Linked DNA regions of Homo sapiens: region 1 is linked to region 2. Evidence: promoter capture Hi-C in human tissues and cell types (Jung and others, 2019). All regions are on one chromosome and are shown on one strand. Each heading gives the region's core, a stretch centred on a gene start or on the middle of the fragment in contact. The rest is flanking DNA. Distances are from core to core; before and after follow the strand shown. Region 1 overlaps LOC124902694. Region 2 holds the start of PACS1 (phosphofurin acidic cluster sorting protein 1).

Region 1 (7,431 bases), core at 2,280-4,779, 180 kb after region 2:
TAAATGCCCCACCCTGCTCCCATCCTCGGGGCCCATCCCTCTTCACTCCTTGAGGGCTTTTCTCCTACAGTCGCCCTCTCTCCTGCACTGCGGGTTCTCCCCTCTGCCAGGACTTTCCACCCACTTACATGCATCCCAAGTGGGTATAGCTCAATATCAAAGACCAGAGACTTCCAGATTCTCTTCAGCTGCCATGCCTTGTCTCTGCTCCCCTTAGAGCAAAACTCTTCCAAAGAGCTGTGTGTGTTCCCCGTCTCCACTTCTGCCCACTCCCTTCCAGTTTTTTCCTCACAATCCCACCAAAAGTTTCCTTTCCACAGTTGCCAGTGACCTGGGTTGCCCAGTCCTATCAGTAGCATTGGATGCAAATAATCACCCGCTTGAGTCTTTCCACCTGGCCTGTGGACAGCTCTGTGCTCTCCTCTCACCTCCCTGGCCTCTCCTTTTTGGCCTCCCTTGCTATGGTGTCCTCAGCTTCCCAGCCTCAAAACCCTGGAGGACTCGGGGCTCCAGCCTCTAATATAGCCTCCTCTCTCCCCACACTCAGCCCTAAAGGGAGCTCACTCGGCCCCATGGTGTGAAATGTGCTCCCCTGGGGAGACTTCCCTCCTAGTAAATGCAAACTCGGTTCTTCAGTTCCGAGGCCGAAAACTGGGGAATCCTCCTCGATTCCTGTTTCTCTTGTACCCACCATCTAATCCATGAGCAAATCCTCCAGGCTTATCCTGACAGTGCCTTGCCCCTTCCTCTACTGCGATTATCTCTTGTCTGGATATTGCAATAGGCTCCTAATTATCCCTGCTCCCACCCTCTTCTCCCTGTAGCCTGTTCTCCACTCAATAGCCAGAGATTTTTCAGAGCTGAGCAGATCGTGTTGGATTGCTGATCCAAACTGTGCAGAGTGTCCCACCTACCTAGGTGTGTAAGCTGAAGCCTTACCTGTGAGGGGCCCACATGGTCTGATCTCCCAGGAGCTGCTGGATCTTAATTCCTCTTACGCTTCCCCTCCTCACTGGCCTCTCAACATTCCTCAAACACCACTCAGCCTCAGGGCCTTTGCACGGACCTTTGGTCCTGTCCATCCTGCTGCTGCCCTCAGGCCCGTGTGGCTTGCTCCATCATTCAGGTCTTGGCTGAAATGTCACCTCAGGAGGCCTTCCCTTCTCCAACCCCTCTTTTTTTTTTTTCTTACTCATATTTCCCACTCCTTGGCATTAATTATTCATTTGTCTCTCCCACAAGAATGCAAGCTCCAAGAAAAGAGGAAATGTTTTTCCCTGTTGTATCCTTGGCACCCAAAATACTGCTTGGCCCATCACAGGTGCACAATAAATACTCGTTTGCAGAATGAAGTTCCCTCTTGCTGCTGGAATTGGGTTCCAAATCCAGATGTGCTACTCAAGACATTTTAACTGATGCCTTAGCCCAAAAGACACCTGGGTTTTCTCATAGGCTCAGAAGTAAGAAGATAGACTCCTACCCCGGGCAAAGAAGAGGAAATCAGCTGTGTAGGGACAGTTTGGAGCACAAGGCAACTCAGGTGGAAGGTGCTGACTCAGACCCTGAAGCAGCTGTGCCCAGTCACCAGGAGTTAAGGCTGGACCAGAGCAGAGCTGCCCAAGGTCCGCCAGAGACTAAAGGCTTTTTGATGCAGAAAGTGGAAGAGCCTCTATCTAACCTGCACGCCAACTCCAGACTGGTTTTATTTTTAAGTAAACTATTTTAGAATACCTTTAGATTTATGGAAAAGTTGCAAAAATAGTAGAAAGAGTGGCTATATACCGCCCTGCCAGTTTCCCTTACTGTTAACATGTTACATTCATGTGCATTTGTCATAACTAGTGAGTCAATCGTGATGCACGATTATTAACTAAAGTCCCTATTTTGGCCGGGCACGGTGGTTCACTCCCATAATCACAGCACTTGGGGAGGCTGAAGCAGGTGGATCATCTGAGGTCAGGAGTTCAAGACCAGCCTAGCCAATGTGGTGAAACCCCATCTCTACTAAAAATACAAAAATTAGCCAGGCGTGGTGGGCACCTGTAATCGCAGCTACTCGGGAGGCTGAGGCAAGAAAATCGCTTGAACCCGGGAGGCGTAGGTTGCAGTGAGCCAAGATTGCACCACTGCACTCCAACCTGGGCGACAGAGTGAGACTCTTTCTCAAATAAATAAATAAATGTCCCTATTTTATGCATGTCCTTAGTTTTTCCCTAATGTCCTTTCTCCATTTCAGACTCCCACCCAGAATGCCACACTACGTTTGGTCATTCTGTCTTCTTTTTTGTTGTTGATTTTAGAGACCAGGTCTTGCTCTGTTGCCCAGGCTGGAGTGCAGTGGTGCCAACCTAGTTCACTGCAGCCTGGAACTCCTGGGCTCAAGCCATTCTCCTACCTCAGCCTTCTGGGTATCTGGGACTACAGGCATGTGTCATTACACCTGGCTCTTTGTTTTGTTTTGTTTTCTTTCGTTTTTTTTGGTAGAGATAGGGTCTTGAACTGACCTCAGTTATCGATCCTCCTACCTTGCCTCCCAAAGTGCTAGGATTACAGGCGTGAACCAACACATCCAGCCCATTCTGCCTTCTTAGGATCCTTTGGGCTGTGACATTTTCTTAGACTTTTTGATCTCTATTTTTGATGACCTTGACAGTTTTGAGGAGTATTGGTCAGGCATTTTGTAGAATGTCCCTCAGTTGGGGATTGTCTGATGTTCTTCTCGTGGCTGGATGGAGGTTATAGGTTGTGGGGAGGAAGACCTCAAAGGTGAATGCCCTTCTCAGCGCAGCCTGTGAAGGGCACATGCCGTCAACATGACATCATGGATGAGGTTGACCTGGGCTCCTCACTGTAAAGTCCCACACACCTGCTCCCATGCTGTTCTCTTTGGAAGGAAGTTGCTGGTGCAGCCCACACTCGGGTGAGGTGTTGATTATCCCTACATGCATCATCTGGGATTCTGCTGTACAGGAGGTTTCAGACTAATCTTTAAACTGCTTCTTTCGCCACCCCTTTCACCTGCCGTGTCCAAGGACTGACAGCATTAATAGCTGTCACCGTCACCTACAGGGCATTGCCTTTGAGCCAGGCTGCTGCTGAGTGCCTTATATGGTTTATTTCATCGAGTCCTTAAAGCAGCCCTCCCTGTGAAATCAATTCTGCTGATGCTTCCTTTTGCAAAGGAGGAAACCAAAGGTCAGAGCCTCCCCTCCCAACTCTAGAGCCTCCCATCTAACCACTTATGTTGCGACCTGAACACTCACAGTCATCCCAGACTTCACATGGCCAAAGCAAGACTCCTGATTTCCCTTGATCTTCCCCAGTCGGCAATGGCACCAGCCTCCATCCTGTTACTCCAGCCAGAAACCCGGACTCATCCTGCGCCGCCCCTCCCAATCCATCAGCAACTCTTGTCCATGCTGCCTCCCAAACGCTGTTTCCAACTATAAGCCAGGGTACCTTCCTCGCATAGAGTATCCTTTGTCGTCCTATCCTCCCAGTGCCCTCTGAATAGAGGCCAACCACCGTCCACCAGGCCCGTGGTCTGGCTCACTACCTTCACTTCTAGTTGCTTTCCCCCTGCCATGCTCACCACCCTCGAGCCACACCTGACCTTTCAGTGCTCACATCCCTCTTCCAACCCCAGAGTAAGCTCCTTTTCCTTTAAGATGTGGCCTTTGTATCACCTCCTCCAAGAGCCTTCCCCAACCACCCCACCCAAAGCCTGGTTGTTAGCCTCTGTCTCTTCAGTCATAGAGTTCACTATTACCTGCAGCAAATGTCTCTGTACCACATTCGAATGAGAGCTCCAGGAGGACAAAGACCCGAGCCGCCGGACTCATTGTTGCAGTATCCAGCACCCTGGCATGCGGCGGACCCTCGATAAAGGTTGGTTCAGTGCATGAGTGAGGGTTAAGTCACTCGTCCAATGCACACATATCGGCTGAGAAGAGGTCAGGTTTCTAAACCCCATCATCTGACTCAGGCCATATCTCAGGGCCCTACTCAGATCCCATCTTCCCAACCATCCATACATCTGGCTTTTATTAACTTCCTACTAGTTCGTGTCCTAGGTACAGCATGAACCTAGGTTGGGTCCCAACCTATACAGGAACGCTAAGGCCAGTAGGGGAGACAAGCAGACCATCGCCACACAGCATGACAGGTTGCACTGGTGCACACAGGAGGGATGTCCACCCTGCAGGAAGAGGTGTCCAAGAAGATGTCCCAAAGGGAATGACACCTGAGTGGCATACTGAAGACATCTGACAAGGATGGATGTTCTGGGCATAGGAAGTAGCATGAGATAAGGGAGATAAGAGAGATAAGGGAGAATGTGGCTGATGCCAAGAACCACACAGGGCTCAGTGCAGCTGGAGACCATGGGGATGGTGAGTGCCAGTGGGAGCGGAGGAAGAGTCTAGGCCCTGAGGAACCTCGTAGCTGTTACTGTTACCACTGTGAGCCAGAGCAAGGACTGCACACTCTGTCCTGAGAGACAGGGGAGCTGGCGAAGGGACCTAGGCAGAGAAGTGAGACGACATATTTCAGAAAGATCTCCTTAATACAACACACCGGGAGAAACAAGACCTGCTCTGCAGACCAGCAGATGAGCTTGAAGGGTGCAGCAGCCATTTAGAAAAGATGTGATGAGGACATTGTAAAGGTGGAAGGGTTAGAGGGAAATAGATAAATCTGAGAGCGACTTAAGAGGTTGAATTAATAGGTTTTGGTAGCTGGTTAGAAAACGAGAGTTGAGGCCGGGCATGGCGGCTCATGCCTGTAATCCCAGCACTCTGGGAGACCAAGGCAGACAGATCACTTGAGGTCAGGAGTTTGAGACCAGTCTGGCCAACATGGTGAAACCCTGTCTCTACTAAAAATACAAAAATTAACCGGGCATAGTGGCGGGCACCTGTAATCCCAGCTACTTGGGAAGCTGAGCCACAAGAATCGCTTGAACCTGAGAGGCAGAGGTTGCGGTGTGCCAAGATCGCGCCACTGCACTCCAGCCTGGGCAGGCGACAGAGTGAGACTCCGTCTCAAAAAAAGAGGCCTGGCATGGTGGCTCAGCACCTTGGGAGGCCGAGGCGGGCAGATCACCTGAGGTCAGGAGTTCGAAACCAGCCTGACCAACATGGTGAAACCCCGTCTCTACTAAAAATACAAAATTAGCCAGGCATGGTGGCGCATGCCTGTAATCCCAGCTACTCAGGAGGCTGAAGCAGGAAAATCACTTGAACCCTGGTAGCAGAGGTTACAGTGAGCCGAGACAATGCCATTGCACTCCAGCCTGGGCAACAAGAGTGAAACTCCATCTCAAAAAAAAGAAAACAGAGTTGAAAGAGAGTCCAGGACAGACTGACTGTCCTGTGTGAACATCCCTGCAGGAGATTTGGACAGGACTTAGTGCTATTCCAACTGGAAGTGGAATATATGGGTCTGGGTAGAGCTCAGGGGACTGATCTGGGCCAGAGATGGAGATGTGGGCCTCCCCACCGTGTGGGAGAGCTGACGCTGGGGAGAGGTGAGCTCATCCCTCGCTGGGCTCATCTCCTTCCTGATCACATGGGCACCTACGGTCCACACTACACAGCTCACGCTTGCTTCTATTCAGTCTCTGCCGCCTCATTTGTGGCTCACCTTCATTCTGAGTGCATCTCTGTCCAACAACACTGCAGGCAGAAGCTGCCCCGTATTTCTCATTCTTTTCCCACACCTTGCACTCAGGGTCTGTTGACTACTAAGCTTGATGGTGATGAGAATAAACAACCACTAGGAATAGTGTCTGTTATGTACAAGGCCTAATGTTAAGCCTTTATGCCTTTTTTGTTTGTTTGTTTTTGGTTTTTGAGACAGAGTCTCGCTCTGTCCCCCAGGCTGGAGTGCAGTGGCGCGATCTCGGCTCACCGCAAGCTCCGCCTCCCGGGTTCGCGCCATTCTCCTGCCTCAGCCTCCCGAGCCACCATGCCCGGCTAATTTTTTGTATTTTTAGTAGAGACGGGGTTTCACCATGTTAGCCAGGATGGTCTCGATTTCCTGACCTCGTGATCCCCCCGCCTCGGCCTCCCAAAGTGCTGGGATTACAGGCGTGAGCCACCGTGCCCAGCCCCTTTATGCCATTTTATTGCATTCTCTGGATGTCCCAACAAAGTAGGTAATAGGAACCCTGCTTTACAGATGAGGAAGCAGGTAAAATAACAGACCATGCCTAAAAAGCGACACCACTAGCAAATGGAGAAACGCGGCTTTGAACTTAGCTGAGTCTGACCCCAAGGCCTGCGGTCCCTCCACTGAGCAGGGCAGGACCGGTCTACCCTGGCTGGGAGGTCACAAGGAAGAGAGGGTGCAGATTTGCCATAAGGCCACAGGACAGGAACCAGGAGCCTCTGGGGACAGCTTTGAGTAGACTGATTCTTGGCTCAGTGGCAGAAAGAACCAACAACTAGTGGTGTCCAAGGTAGACAAGGGCCCCTCAGGAAGCTCAGGAAGCTGGGGAGACATGGTCTTTAAGGAGCCTCCCATCTTGAGCACTTATGGGTGAATGTGCTGACTTTTTTTTTTTTTTTTTTTTTGAGACAGAGTCTCACTCTGTCGCCCAGGCCTCTCAGGTTCAAGCAATTCTCCTGCCTCAGCCTCCCAAGTAGCTGGGACTACAGGCAAGAGCTACCACACCTGGCTAATTTGTTGTATTTTTAGTAGAGACAGGGTTTCACCATGTTGGCCAGGCTAGTCTCAAACTCCTGACCTCAAGTGATCCGCCCATCTCGGCCTCCCAAAGTGCTGGGATTACAGACGTGGGCCACTGTGCCCGGCCATATCTGCTGACATTTCAAGTGGGACGACAGCCTTGGCAAAAGTGCCCCAGCCACTTCAGAGAAAGGGAGGGAATCTAGCCAAAAGAAAAAGAATAATTTAAGAAAGCAGATTTCAGTGGGACGAGGGCTTCTGAGGATCTAAAGGGATGCAGTAGGAGAAGTGGGAGTGATTTTCAGGGAGGAAACAGTAATATTAAAAGTAGCAAGAACAACTTCCCAGGCATGGGATGGCAGGGGGCTGCTGAGCACTGTGGAAAGAGCATAAGGAGCTGAATCACCACTGGGCATGGATTTCTTCCTTTATTCTCCATTTACTGAGTGCCCATCAGCAGCCTGGCATGAGATCAGCAGCTGCTGGAGGAGCACAGGACAGTGCAGGATGAAGTAACAGTCTCTTCCTTTGGGAGACACACAGTGCAATCCTCAGAGACAAGATAAAAAGCCAAGTGGCTGAAAGGGCCGAACACATGCGAGGCTAAGCGACAAGAGAATGAGAACCAGCAGGGAAGGCCCAGCCTTCCCCCACCAGCACACCGGGCGGAGCAGCCAGCGCCTAAGGAGAATCCCAAAGGAACCACTGAAGCCCACAGATGGTGAGCAGAACAATTGGAGC
Region 2 (7,766 bases), core at 2,790-5,289:
ACTGCCATTAGTTGATTCATTTTCCTCATTATGGATTGTATTTTCCTACTCTTTTGCACGCCTGGTAATTTTTTTTTCTTTTCCTTTCTTTTTTTGAGAGAGGTTCTCACTGTGTTGCCCAGGCTGGTCTTGAACTTCTGGGCTCAAGCAATCATCCTGCCTCAGCTTCCCAAAGTGCTGGGATTACAGGTGTGAGCCATCAGGCCTGTCCAGTGCCTGGTAATTTTTTATTGAATGCTAGGCTTTGTGAAATTTACCTTGTTGGGTCCAAGATATTTTTGTATTCCTGTACATTTTCTTCAGCTCATTCGGGAATATAGTTATATGGAGATAGTTTGATCCTTTCAGGTCTTGTTTTGGGGTTCTTGAGGCAGGACTGAAGCAGTCCTCCCCATTGTGAGGCACAAGTACCTGTGTACTCTACCCACCACCCTGTGAATCAGGAGGTTTTTCCGGCTGGCTAGTGGGAGTTACTCTATTCCCAGTTCTGAGTGAGCAGCAGTTGCTGTTATGAATCCTTTTGGGTGCTTCTTTCCCTGTCCTTGGTAGGCATGTGCTGCTTAGTACTCCCCTGCATACTTGAGGACCTTCTGTAGGTCTCGAGTTCTCTCTCTGCTCTTTTCTCCAGTACTCTATCCTGTGAACTCTAGCTGCCTTGATCTCCCTGGACTTTCAGTTTCATCCTCCCAACTCACGGAGTCCTCAGGGCTCTCCATGAGTCTCCCCTCTGTTCTGTGGCCTGCAAACTCTCAGGTGTGGTATGCTGGGGCAGTTGAAGGGCTCATCACATTTGTTTCCTGTCTCGCAGGAATCACTGTGCTTTGTTGCCCCATGTGTAGTGTCTTGAAAACCACTGTTTCATATATTTTGCCCATTTTTTTTGGTTGTTTCAGGCAGGAGGGTGTATCTGGTTCCTCTTGCTCCTTGTCAGGAAGCAGAAGTCTCAAGCTTTGCATATTCAAGGAAGAAAAATAAAGAAGGGTACTGTGGACAGAGTATAGTGAGGAGGGCTTGGGTAAGGGACCAGGCTATGAACCCTTTAGGTCATGGTAAGGAGTTTGGATTTTATTCAGATAATGATCAGAAGCCTCAGAGGGTTTTGAGCAAAGGTCTGACAGGACCCGACATCCGTTTTAAGGTATTTTCTCTGGCTCCTGTGTGGACAATAGATTGTCACCTCTTCCAGCGGGAGAGGTGGAGATGATGGGCATAGTCTGGGGTGATAGTGGTAGATTTGCTCTTGTTCCTAGTGTAATCCTTGAAATTAGTGGTGAAACTGGCTGTGGATGGCTCTTGCGTTGGAAGGCCTGGAAGTGTGAATTACATACATGAGAACTCCAGGCATGACATTCTTCGGGTGGGAACTGTTGTCGCCTGCTCTATCTTGCCAGCTTCTCTGTACCAAAGTTCTTTTGGAAACTTTGAGCCTCTCTGACCTTTTGACCCTTATGTGCATGTGGGAGTCCTGGTCTGTGATCCCTTGACTTGATTCAGGGGGCCCCTTAGCTCCATCTGTGTTCCCTGGAGTCAGCACTGTGCCACCCCCCCGCCCAATTCTTTTCTGTCATGGGCAGAACTGCAGAGGCTGCATCCTTGGGGAGCTCAGAAGCTCTCCAAGGCGCTGAGTGGAGGTGCCACCTGTATCTTTTGTTTCCGCTTCTGGAGACCCTTTTGTCCCTTGCTTTTTGGGCCTGATCCCATTGTCCTTCGCAGAAGTGAGACACCTCAGCTCTTCACTGTGTTGCCAGAGAAGAGAACAGCCACTGTTGGAGGGGCCATGATGGGATCAACCCACATTTATGACATGTCCACGGTGAGTACTTGGAGGATACTGCTTTTGGAGGCTGAGAAAGGCAGCAGAAGCTAGGGCTTCTCTGACTCTTTGGAGATGACCAGGCCCTGATCTCCTTTCCAGGTTATGAGCCGGAAGGGCCCGGCTCCTGAGCTGCAAGGTGTGGAAGTGGCGCTGGCGCCTGAAGAGTTGGAGCTGGATCCTATGGCCATGACCCAGAAGTATGAGGAGCATGTGCGGGAGCAGCAGGCTCAAGTAGAGAAGGAGGACTTCAGTGACATGGTGGCTGAGCACGCTGCCAAACAGAAGGTAGGCGCTTCCAGGGGCGCTGGGCTGGGTGAGAGCCAGGGACCCTGGCCTGCCGTTTTCAGTGGCATGGTGCCCTCTAGTGGTGAGAGTGAGGGTGGCCTCTGCTTGCTGCTCTGTGCTTCCTTAGATTTGGAAGTCTTAGAAATCCTCCAGTGGGCTGCCCTCTTTAAGGACGATGAGGGGGAGGAACTCAGCCAAGTCTGAGAGGGAGCTCGAAGAGAATTCAGATTCAGCGCCTTTCCCACAGACTTCTATGTCTATGTCAGGCTGCCCACCCTTGTTTTGGGGGTCCGGGGGTGGTTCAACCTGTCTTAACCTGTGTCTCTTTCTCCCTATACAGCAAAAAAAACGGAAAGCTCAGCCCCAGGACAGCCGTGGGGGCAGCAAGAAATATAAGGAGTTCAAGTTTTAGGTCCCCTCACACTAGCCCTTTTTTTGGCCCTACGTCTGGATGCCTGGGCTTCACACAAGAACCACCTCTCCCGCAGTTCCCAAGGACTTGTCATTTCATGTTCTTATTTTAGACCTGTTTTGTAAATAAAGCTGTTTCCCAAGGAAAGAGATGAATATTTAACACTCCTGAGCCTCCCTCATCTCCTTTTAGCCCCTTCTTGCAAAAGGACTAAAATAGTCTCTTTCTACAATCACTGGGCTGCCCCAGTAACCACGAACATAAACTGGGATTAGACGGCGCATTTGACTGGTGGTGACGCCAACCCCAGGCTGAAATCTGTGTTTCACCACTGCCCTGCTTTGTAGGAAGGCTTGGGGGAAGTACCTCTAGGTCTGGTTTGACCTTACTACTTTGTCCTTGGGGAGTAAAAATAGCCAGATTAGCGCCCTAGCGCGGCAGAGGAAGTAACAGTGGGCTTGGGAAGTAGGCCAGGGCAGGCCTTCCCAACTGACCTTGTGACCAGAAGTTCAAGTCCTTACCTGTGCGACAACATAGCTCAAAAGCTAAATTGTCTTGAGTCCATATGAACCCTTGGGTTCAAGCAACACTAGTCGCTGGGGTTTGGGATTTGTATGTGGGATGGGGGGACTTACTTTCTCCAGGTTGTAATCTGGTCCTGAGCAGCCTTTCTGACAGACTAGAGCAGGCTGGATCACTGGCTCCCATGGGCATTTGCCAGCCTGTGGGGAGGGTAGTCATGCGCTGCTGTTGTACTACTGTTGGTGTTTAAGTGCACCAGTGGAGGCGCTCACTTGCCGGAGGGTTCAAGATGGTCTCGGGGTTGTGGGGGGCATGATCCAGATAGGACGTGGCAGCTGAGCTAGGCCTTAGGAGGAATGGAATTTTAGAAATTTGGTAAGCAACAAAGCACTGGCACTCTAAAGAGGCATTTGGGGGGTAGGGAAAGAAGAGGAAGGTTGGCTCCAGATGGGCCCCGGGGTAGCTTGAGAATTCACTTATGCGAAGAACCTTCTGGACTCCAGGTCCCTGAGCCCCCGCTTGCCCTCGGGGCGGGAACTTCCCGGATCACAGGCACCCGCGGTGGCAGCGGGCCCCGGGTCTCCGCCGACCTCTCTGTTTGCCGGGGCCGCAGGGCAGGGCTAGGTCGGCAGGCGGAGAGCCGGCTTCCCCGGGCAGACCCCCACCGCTGGGGGCGGGTTCCGCATTGGCTCCGAAGACCCGAGGGGCCGAGGCGCGCTCCCGCGGCGGCCCCCTCCCTGCAGGGACCGAATCCCGGAAAAGCCGGGTTTCCGCTGGCGGGGCCGCGGCCGGCCGTGGGCGGGGAGGGGAGGAGCGGGGGCAGACTGGCAGCGGATTTGAGGGCAGGACCCGTGGGCGCGCGCTGGCCACAGACCACCCCTTCTACTCCGCGGGAGCGAGGGGCGCGCGTGGCTGCACGCAGGGCGCGAGCGCGCCCGGCCCGGCCCCTCCGCGCTGGGTGGGGCCGCGCGGGCCGGGCTCCCCGCCCCCTCCCGGACACGCCCACCCGTGTCGGCCTCGCGAGCCGCAACAGGCAGCGGCGGTCGAGCGCGAGGCCCGCGCGCCCAGAGGCCCCGCGCGTGCGTGCAGCTCGCTGGCTGCTCGCGCTCGGGCAGGCGGGCTGAGGAGGCTGCCGCGCCCCCGCCGCCGCCGCCGCGGGGGAAGCCTGGGAGCCAGATCGGCGTCGCCTCGGCCTCCGTAACCCCCGCCTAGCCGGGCCATGGCGGAACGCGGAGGGGCGGGCGGTGGTCCCGGAGGCGCCGGGGGCGGCAGCGGCCAGCGGGGATCCGGGGTCGCCCAGTCCCCTCAGCAGCCGCCGCCGCAGCAGCAGCAGCAGCAGCCGCCGCAGCAGCCGACGCCCCCCAAGCTGGCCCAGGCCACCTCGTCGTCCTCGTCCACCTCGGCGGCGGCTGCCTCCTCCTCGTCCTCGTCTACCTCCACCTCCATGGCCGTGGCGGTGGCCTCGGGCTCCGCGCCTCCCGGTGGCCCGGGGCCAGGCCGCACCCCCGCCCCGGTGCAGATGAACCTGTACGCCACCTGGGAGGTGGACCGGAGCTCGTCCAGCTGCGTGCCTAGGTGAGCGCGGGAGGGTGCGGCGGGGCGCCGGGGGAGCGGGGTGGCCGCCGGGGCCCAGCCCTCCCCGCCCCAGCGCCCATGGGGTCCCCGCCCTCCATCTCCCCGACTGTCCCGCGGCCCGGCCTGGCTCCAGCCAGGCCTCCCGGGACTCCTGCCACGGGGACCCGCCCTCTCCTGGCAGCCCCACCTTCTGCCTGGGGCCGGGACCACCCTTCTGTCCTCCCCGAGGGACCTTCTGGCCTCGGCCCCGGGCTTTCTCCGATTGGGCTGACCGAATCCGGCCTTCCTGGCAGTCAGTTTCCCTGAGTAAGTCACTCTCCTGCCTCGCCGGCGCCGGGAGCTGTACATACATGGATGTGGTATAGATCTCTTGATATTATTATTTCCCAATAGACTCAGCATGTGCCAAACTCGATTGTCACCTCTTGCAGGTAAAGCTCATATAATCACCCTAGGGGCTTCTCATTAGCCTTCGGCACACATGTTCATTTGAACTTCATATTACACACGTTCTGTCCCAAGCGCTAGGCTCTTAGTTTTGGGGCCCTATTTAATGTGTCCTCAAGTGTATTTTTACCTCCCCTCCCCCACTAAAACTGGTCCCAGAATCTCCCAGCTCTGCAGGGCTGTATGAAATTACTGCCTTGTTCCTAAATTCAATCCATTGCTCTCTGTCTGTTGGAACCATCTGGGGACTTTCCTTCCATTGGCAAAATAGGCCTGAGTTTGGGAATATTTTCTGTTTTTGTATTGGCAAGGCAGTCTGTCTCCAACTCTGGGGACAGGGTGCTGTGTCTTACAGTTTGCCACTTGAATAAGACGGTGTGTGGAGCTGGTTTCACCCAGAAAGCCCAGAGAAGTGCCTGGAGGTGTTCTTTTTTGTCACCTTGTAGCTGAGTTGATTCTGTTGCCTTGAAGTCTTGGGCTGTCTCCTCACTGTTGGTTAGGCAGACGGATGTGTAAGTCAGAGTTAGAGAGGATTGCTGGGCTCCCCCCTCGACTGTCTTCCTTTCCCCACCTTTATTCTGGATAATATTGTTTTATATATATATCCCAGATAGGAATGATGAGAGTACATCTTTCTGTTTCGCTCAGCTTAAGGAACAGAGCATTATCGCTTCTGTTGAAGCTCTCAGGGTGCCCCTTCCTGACTGTCTCCCCTCTTCCTTCTACAAAGGTAAACACTATTTTGAATTGTGTTTATCATTTCCCTTGTTAGAAAAAAATTAGTTTTACTACATAATGCATCTCTATATATTTTATAGTTCTGAATGTTCTTGAAGTTTGTGTACATGGTGTCATCCTGTATGTGTTCTGTGACTTGATTGGTTTTTTTATTTTTTTTTAAATCAGCATTAGGTTTGTGAGAATCATCCATGTGGTATGGTAGCCATAGTTTAAATATTTTCATGATGGGTAGTATTCTGTTGTGTGAATGAATATACCGTAATTCTCTTGAATATGTAGGTTGTTTCCTGTTTAACACCCACAGTAATGCACACATTTCCCCCCAGGACTCCTAGTGCTCTTGTGCAGAAGTTTCTTTAGGTTGTATTCATATGGAGGGGTGGGATTGCCGCTCGCAGGGTATAGATCTGGGACTTCACTAGGCAAAAGTAGATTGTTTCCACAGGCTGCTTCCACTCTGTGTTTCCACATCACTTAACAGATTTACACATTGTTTTTTTTTTCTCTGTCCTTTCTCTAGGGAAATCAGGAGCCACATTAATTTAGTTTGCTGTGGCCAGATCCATAGCACAACACCAAGCTCAAGCGAGAGTTGAGTATGTGATGGTGTTCCTCTCTTGATCCTAAGCAGGCCTCTCTCTTTCTATACAGGCCCATCTATCGCTGAAGTATCCTAACCCACCTCTTTCACACATAGAAACACTGTGTTCCTTCCTACGTGGGTCCAGTCTTTCCCATTTCTCCTTCACTTTCATGCCTGTGTTTGGTGACGTTTGGGCAGCTGCCTTCTCCATCTCGTTAGGTTGAAAAGGCGCGAGCCTACTGGCAAGGAGCTGCAGCAGAGGGGCGTGAATGAAATCATTGACTGCTGTTGATGTTTGGTCTGCCCCTAGGTCTTTTGGTCACTGCAAAGTCCACGTAATAAATTATTAGCCTAAGAAACAGCCAGGCATCCTGATCAAATGTATAATTATTATGCTAACTTGCTGTGAGAGGCTTAGGCGGACTTATTTTTACATTCCGGGAGTGTGCAGTTACGTCACGTTTACTGACCAGTCCTTGAGCTTGTCCACTGTCCTGCTCCGACATTGTTTTTCATCCATCACCCTTGTACCTCCTCACTCCTTGTGGAACACATGTGCTCTTTGAGCATTTTGCAGGCCAGAATAACACTCTGTGGGGAGAAAATGGCCTGCCATTGGTCTTTCCAATTATTAGAGTCATCTGGTTAATTTGAGGTCTCCTGGGTGTCCTTGTTCATGTTGTTTAGAATATATAGGCAACATGCAGCACTCTGTGGAGGGATTAACATTCTTGTCTCATGTAACTCAAACGGGACACAAATATATGAGATACATGCCCCTTAGAAATGTAAACATGATTGTGGATCTAAGGTTAGGTGTGCATAAGAATGTCATGGGATTTGGTCTCTTAGGGCAGAGAAGAGGGGCTCGAACAGTACAGTGTTAGGAAGGTCCTGCTGCTTTTCTTGATGCCTGTCAAAATATAATTTTCTTTTGAAAAAAATACCGTTTCCTGTATTAGATATTTAAATAAAGAGCAGTGTAGTTGTTCTTCAGGTAGGTGTCTGCTCTTATTTAACATCTGTTAAATTCCCCCAGAATACATAGTACTTTTGAAAAACTTTATATAGGTGAATAGCTTACTCACAGCTGGTTTTAAAAGAATGAAATTGTTCTGTTGATCACATTTTTCACCAGCATTTTTTGTTTTTTTTCTTTAGATGGAGTCTTGCTCTGTCATCCAGGCTACAGTGTAGTGGCACAGTCATAGCTCACTGCAGCCTCCAACTCCTGGGCTCAGCAATCCTCCAGCCTCAGCCTCCCAAGTAGCTGGGACTATAGGCATGTGACATCACACCTGGCTTTTTTTTTTTTTTTTTTTTTTTTTTTAAAAACAGGGTCTCACTATGTTGCCCAGGCTGGTCTTGAACTCCTTGCTTCAAAC

Evidence for each region. Contacts are between HindIII fragments. The study calls those that stand out against the background at their distance.
Region 1: a contact is called between a fragment that was not itself captured here and the fragment with the promoter of PACS1 in region 2, in 1 of the 25 tissues and cell types used here (bladder).

The regions. Positions count from the first base shown.
Region 1 is chr11:66,246,452-66,253,882 of GRCh38, forward strand. The region is part of intron 1 of LOC124902694; the gene reads right to left. It also overlaps a transcript of KLC2 not described here. Among named protein-coding and RNA genes, the nearest start is that of KLC2, 7.5 kb to the right of the region's middle. RefSeq lists an enhancer at 7,141-7,431. The HindIII fragment of the contact is 6,602 bases long and covers 229-6,830 here.
Region 2 is chr11:66,066,233-66,073,998 of GRCh38, forward strand. PACS1 (phosphofurin acidic cluster sorting protein 1) reads left to right here and starts at 4,040. Exons shown (of 24, transcript NM_018026.4): 1 at 4,040-4,610. The coding sequence starts at 4,255. It overlaps SF3B2 (splicing factor 3b subunit 2), which reads left to right. Exons shown (of 22, transcript NM_006842.3): 20 at 1,714-1,813; 21 at 1,916-2,101; 22 at 2,442-3,076. The coding sequence ends at 2,513. RefSeq lists an enhancer at 1,893-2,052 and silencers at 3,600-4,219, 4,230-4,279, 4,430-4,559, 4,570-4,719, 4,780-4,984 and 1 more. The HindIII fragment of the contact is 13,254 bases long and covers 1-7,766 here.